2 separate regions of the Homo sapiens genome follow, and region 1 is linked to region 2. Evidence: promoter capture Hi-C in 16 types of primary human blood cells and fetal thymus (Javierre and others, 2016). All regions are on one chromosome and are shown on one strand. Each heading gives the region's core, a stretch centred on a gene start or on the middle of the fragment in contact. The rest is flanking DNA. Distances are from core to core; before and after follow the strand shown.

The links. The method cuts DNA at HindIII sites, captures the fragments that hold promoters and counts their contacts. A CHiCAGO score of 5 or more calls a contact.
Region 1: a fragment that was not itself captured here is called in contact with the fragment with the promoter of KLHL28 in region 2 in 1 of 17 cell types (total B cells); the score reaches 5.8 in total B cells.

What each region holds. Positions count from the first base shown.
Region 1 is chr14:42,421,619-42,425,092 of GRCh38, forward strand. No RefSeq gene overlaps it. Among named protein-coding and RNA genes, the nearest start is that of LRFN5, 820 kb to the left of the region's middle. The HindIII fragment of the contact is 9,653 bases long and covers 1-3,474 here.
Region 2 is chr14:44,960,448-44,963,530 of GRCh38, forward strand. KLHL28 (kelch like family member 28) reads right to left here and starts at 1,500. Exons shown (of 5, transcript NM_017658.5): 1 at 1,399-1,500. It overlaps TOGARAM1 (TOG array regulator of axonemal microtubules 1), which reads left to right and starts at 1,743. Exons shown (of 20, transcript NM_001308120.2): 1 at 1,743-3,083. The coding sequence starts at 1,975. RefSeq lists enhancers at 567-656, 1,171-1,685, 1,227-2,036, 1,686-2,200. The HindIII fragment of the contact is 5,188 bases long and covers 1-2,375 here.

The DNA.
Region 1 (3,474 bases), core at 633-3,132, 2.5 Mb before region 2:
AGCCATGCTATCAGCCTCTCTGGTTCTCCAGCTCCCAGGTAATCCATCATGGGACTCCTTATCCTTCAGAATCTTGTGAGCCCATTCCTCTAGTATATTCCCTCTTATCTATTCTATCTATCCATCTATCTATGTTTCTTTCTTTCTATCTATCCATTCATTCATCCTATTGGTTCTGTCTTTCCAGAGAACCATAAGACAGCATGTAAGTCAGATCATGCAGTATCAGTTTCTGTCTTTCTGTTTCTGGCTTATTTTACTTAGCATAATGCCCTCCAGGTTCATTCTGAAAAGATGATTCATAATGATTATGAGAAGATGATTTTTTGATGGGATTTGAGTCAGTAGGAGTATCTCATTATTTTCATCACATTATTAGTTATTTGGTGCATGACATTTTGTTTTTCTAAATTAATGCTTAGCAGTATTAATCAAAGACCCCTTAAGTTAAAGTCCAATGTTTGTATATTTGCCTTTAATACATAAAGGTTATGTCTACATAATAAAGACAGGTAATTAGGATTGATATTAAGAGAAAAGGCAACACACAAAGCCATGTCTTACTTTATTATCTAAGTATTTTAGACTAAATTACCTGTTGCACTTTATAGTAACACCTGTCATTTTATGTAACAAACATATGTTATTAATAGCAGCTTTAGGTATATTAATTGCATTAAGCCTGCCTATACATATAGGATATAAAATATTAACTTTATTTTATAGATGAAAACACATCTTTCCTAAAGTAATAGAACCAGTGTATCAAAAGCATTGAAGATTATTATACATACTCAAAATCTATGCTTTTAAATATTATTACGTATAGTTACCCATCTAACTATCTATTCTTGGAATAATAGATGCATTTCAAATAGCCCTTAACAATTATTAATAGCATTATGAAAACATTTTTAAAACTCTGGTCATTTATTCAAGAATGGCATGCACTCTTACCGGGAGGTTCTGTCTTGGTTCCCACTGATAAAACTCCATTCATGATTTTTACAATCGTATTAGCTTTTACAATGTTTTGCTTAACATGTAAGCAGCTCTTACTATAGAGTTGGTACCTAAAACAGTCAGTTATGTTAAAACTTTCTGTTATGAAAGTAGTTATTAATCATGACAACAATTTTTTTATGTAACTTATATCACTGTGCTAAAATCTGTATCTTCCCTATTTAGATTCCTGCTTGTTGATTATTCACATGCAGTATTTCTATATGATTAGTCTCTTCTACTTCACTGTTCTTTTTTTCTCCCAAATTTATTCTTTCATCAAAGTTCTCGATGTTCTTTGTCATCCAAGAGTATTATTTCAGTCTAGAAGTAAATTTTATCTCTCCTTTGTTTCTTTATATTTAATTTAAAGACAATCATTTAAAAATTTGAAAACAAATATTTTATTAAATAAATATGTATTCATTTAGTGTTTTTCATGAAGTAAATAAGTGAACTATATTATAAATAATTCCTTAAAATAATACCTACTTGTAAGCTGCCAAAAACAGTTTATGAAATAATAGCGGTTGTTTTGGTGATAAATAGATCCCTATATATTTATTACCTAGAGAGCACAGTTTACATAGAAATATTGTCTTTATTCTGCAGTTCAAGTTGTGAATATTTGGCAGACACCATTGTAGTTTCTCTCTGAATAGAATCAAGACCATATGTTTAACAAGGAGTTAAGATTTAGTGGTGTATAAAAACAAAGTGTCTAAATTCTAATGACACTATTTACTAATCTAATAATACAATGTCACCACTTTTCACTTTGATGTCAAACTCAACTTTGTATTCTAAAGCCTTCTGAAATGCTCACTCTTCACTCAGTGAAATATGGGGAAAAAGACATTTTAATTAACTTAGTTGAAAAATATAAAACATATACATTTAGGTTTAGAGATTTAGAATTTTTTAATATACTCCCTCAGCTTTAGTCAATATAAAAATAATTTGTTTCACTTATAGTATGCTTATTTTTGATTTCCCTGAAAAATTTCAATGTAAGAAGCAAAATTATATTGGATACATGGGATTATATTCATTGCAGATTTTGTAATCCTCATATATCACAGACTAATTAGTAATGAAATAAGATTGTATAATGACAGATCCTCTGTATTCCCATAGAAAATGCAGGACTGTTCACACAGTTAAACTGTGAGAGCATGTTTCCACTTGACATTTATGGAATTGTAGCTTGGCACACTCTTTGTTTTAACAGAGAAAAAGCTGATATAAATGTAAATCTAAAAGACATTCTGGCAGCAATATTTTATTATTTCCTACTCAACTGAGTTGAATGAATGAATTTTAAAAATTGACATTTTTTGGTGTTCCCTCTAGAAAATAGTAATTTAGCTTATATTGAAAATAACAGAGTAATGGCAACGCTTAATAGTAACTAAGAATCTCATGTTTGTTATGAATTTACCAGAGTAATGGAGGGCCTTAATGGTGTTTTTTTAAGAGGTTAGTATTTTCACATATATATCACAAGAAACACAGCTGGATCTCCACAGTCAGATTTCAAATTTTTTTTTTTATATTCAGAAATCCAGTTCCACTTTCTAGTGCACGTCTTTCTTCAAATAGCCCATCAATTATCTCCAGCGTGTCTTCTGTGGAAGGCAGAAGGTTGTTGATACAGCTGACGGTTATGCCTTATCCAGTCTCTGTTTTTGAGAGGCCAAGTTCAATATTTCTCAATGTTACAATAACTATATAAACATAACCAAATAAATTAATTAAATAAATTTTCCTCAAATGATAATTATGCATGTTAAAATGTGATAAATAGATATTTTCCCATTACCAATATTATAAATATTATGTGGCCAAAGCCAATGTTAAAATTTTTATTCCTTCAATCATACAAATTAATATTAAGAAGTCTTATTGATTGTTTCCTATATCAAGACACTTTTTTAAACATTTTGTATGCACTGACTCATAGAAACCTCATTATACCTTAAACAACAGGGACAATTATTTTCCTTATCTATATGGAGAAATTTAGTCATGGAACAGCTTAGGTTATTGCTCAGAATCACACAACTGGTGGATCTGGAATGCAGCTCAGGCATTCTGGTTGCTGAGCAAGGGCCCTTAACTTCTGTGATAAATTTCCTCTCCTTACCAATGTATTGCAAAATATTGTTCTGTGTGAAGCTCCTCTGACTTATTCACAATGTGCAAACCAAGGAAAGGTTACATTTTGTATGAAAGAGTAGCTTTATTTCTCCTATTCTTGTTTTTTATTATCTACATAGTAATTGGATATTTTGATTCTAGCTGTTATTATGTGTATGGAGATGATGCCATTTTTGATAATAATAAGGCTGGGGAGGTAGATTTTAACTAGTTATCATAAGGCATATACAAAATCATTCTACCTTATGTATGCATGATTGAATGTAACAGTAAAGCAATCTTGCAAATTATAATACTTGAATTTACATAACT
Region 2 (3,083 bases), core at 250-2,749:
GAAGTCTACACATTTGAGCTTCTTAGGTTGGAACTGTGAGAACCAGACACTTTCTCATTGACAACTGCTACAATCATTTCTTGTTTTTCACCTCCCTGTCTTTAACCTGTCCCTAAAATGAAACATGCTAGCTAAACCTAATTTAGGCAGATTCATTTAAACACGAAAATGGCTCATTAAAACCAAAGTAACAGCCTAGAATTTAAACCAAAACATAGGATGTATATTTACACAGCCTCATTTACATTATAGTCTATTCCCCACCCCCACCCCCCCAAAAACAAAACAAAACAAAACTGATATTCAAATCGTACTTTAAGGCAAAAATCCAGAAATTATTTTTGCACTTGCATCAGCTGGGAGCATTATTTATAAAGCTGTTTGGCATATGTGACTCATTTATTCCAAGACTTTAAAAAGTATTTAAGAGAAATCCCACCTGGTACAGAGCAGGGTAGGAATACTTGCATTTGAAGTGCATAAATTTGGGTCTTCAAATGATAACTTAGACTTTTCGCACGAGTCATTCAAAAGTAATAGTATTATTCCTTCAAAAAAAAAAAATATCTCTTCCACACTCCAAAGCATTCAGGCTCACACTAGACACTCCAGCTCTTCCACTGTGTCCGTTTAAGTATCACTTATGAGGAGAAAATGCACACAAAATTCTCAGTTCGCCTAAAATAAATAAATGTCTACTATCATTCCTAAATCCACAAGGCAGAATTCTCTTAGAACCATGATGCCAAGAACTTCCACCGCAAGTGAAATTGTCTTCGCAATCTCTGTCTCTAGGAGACTGAAAGGCTGCAGAGACGCTTGAGGATCCTGCAGGGAGGCTAGGGCGGCAGACGGAGGGGGCGGAGGTTAGGGGAGAGTCCCACAGAGGAACTGCATTAGAAGGAAAGATTTTGATAACGTCTAAGGGAGAGGCGGTTAGCTACAGGGGGAAAAAAACAGACCTATTTCCATATTATGTACGTTGTAAAGAAAACGCAAAGTGATGAGGGTAAGGAAACGTTGCCAAAAACAAACAAACAAAAACAAAAAAAAATTAACCCTCTGCGGCCGGAGGGTTAAGAGAAGTCGACAAAAGGAGAAGGGGGAGGCGAATAAAGGCCCCAAAGACCAGGAATTGAAAAAAAATACCCGATTTGTGAGCTTGGCCGTGGTCCAGATCTTCTGTCCTGATAAGCAGATGGCAAGAGGAAAGGATCGCAGTTACTCAGGGTGGTAGAGAGTAACGCGTTTACAAGGGTGACGAGCCCTGCACAAGAAGATGTCGCCTCTCTTTCCACCTGCTCCGCTCAGTCCTTTGCCTCTTACTCTAGCACCAGTGGCATTCGGGCAAAACACTGCCAAAGCCTGCACCGCTGGAGGACAGCAAAAGGAAAATACCTGAGTCTCAGTAATCACACGGGCAGCGACAGGAGGAGGAACCGCGGACAACTGGAGCCTGGGCTGGATCCTCACTAGCTCCGGTCAAACCCTAACTCTTACGGGTGGGGCGGGCAACTTCCGCCCAGAGCAAGGAAAGCGTCACATCCGTCAAATGGCTTCACCCCTCCTCCCTTCTCCGCTGTAGCTGCGTTTACAACGTTCTGACTTCCTCTTCCAGGAGACTTTGGCCTAGTCTCAACACCTGACGTGGACTACATAACCCAGCATTCATCACGGCAAGTGGATTTCCGGGTCAAGAGGTCCGCGCTGGGTACATCACCATGGAAGCAATCGGTTTGGTCACGTGGTGCCCTTGGTTACGCCCGGTGGCAGCTGTGGGGTCTAGGGCTCAGACGGGGGCCATTTTGCCAGAGGCTGCCTCCCGGAGTTGGGGGCGGCCTGGCGGCAGGCTGAAGCTGTTCTTTTGCCTCTTCTGCAGCTTGGGGCTTGGAGAGGATCTGGAAGTCTGGGCTCCATCGAGCCCTTTGGAGACGGCAATGGTTTCTTCCAACCACCACCACCTGACAACCCTGCATGGCGGCTGCCCCCTCCGCGCTGCTTCTGCTGCCGCCCTTTCCAGTCCTCTCTACCTATCGGCTCCAGAGCCGCAGTCGTCCTTCCGCCCCAGAGACCGATGATAGTCGAGTTGGGGGCATTATGAGAGGAGAGAAAAACTACTACTTCCGTGGAGCTGCGGGGGACCACGGTTCCTGCCCCACTACAACTTCGCCTCTGGCCTCGGCCCTCTTGATGCCCTCGGAGGCAGTCTCAAGCAGCTGGTCTGAGTCTGGAGGCGGTTTGTCAGGGGGAGATGAAGAGGACACTCGGCTCCTTCAACTCCTCCGCACTGCCCGGGATCCTTCTGAGGCCTTCCAGGCTTTGCAAGCTGCTTTGCCGCGGCGGGGCGGTCGACTTGGCTTCCCCCGACGCAAGGAAGCTTTGTATCGGGCACTGGGCCGAGTGCTTGTGGAAGGAGGTAGTGATGAGAAGCGGCTCTGCTTGCAACTTCTCTCGGACGTTCTCCGGGGTCAGGGGGAGGCAGGCCAGCTTGAAGAGGCCTTTAGCTTAGCACTTTTGCCTCAACTAGTTGTCTCGTTACGGGAAGAGAATCCAGCCCTGCGGAAAGATGCGCTGCAGATCCTTCATATATGTCTGAAACGTAGTCCTGGAGAGGTGCTGAGAACGCTTATACAACAAGGACTGGAAAGTACCGATGCCCGACTTAGAGCTTCCACAGCACTACTGCTTCCCATCTTGCTTACTACTGAGGACTTGTTGCTTGGTCTGGATCTCACCGAGGTGATAATATCCCTAGCCCGAAAGCTTGGTGATCAGGAGACAGAAGAAGAATCTGAGACAGCTTTCTCCGCACTTCAACAAATTGGGGAGCGACTTGGCCAAGACAGGTTTCAATCTTACATTTCTCGTCTGCCCTCTGCCCTGAGGAGACACTACAATCGCCGCCTGGAGTCCCAGTTTGGAAGTCAGGTTCCTTATTATTTGGAACTTGAAGCCTCTGGATTTCCTGAAGATCCCCTTCCCTGTGCAGTGACTCTTTCCAACAGCAATCTTAAATTTGGGATTATTCCTCAGGAGCTGCATTCACGATTATTGGATCAGGAAGACTATAAGAACCGGACCCA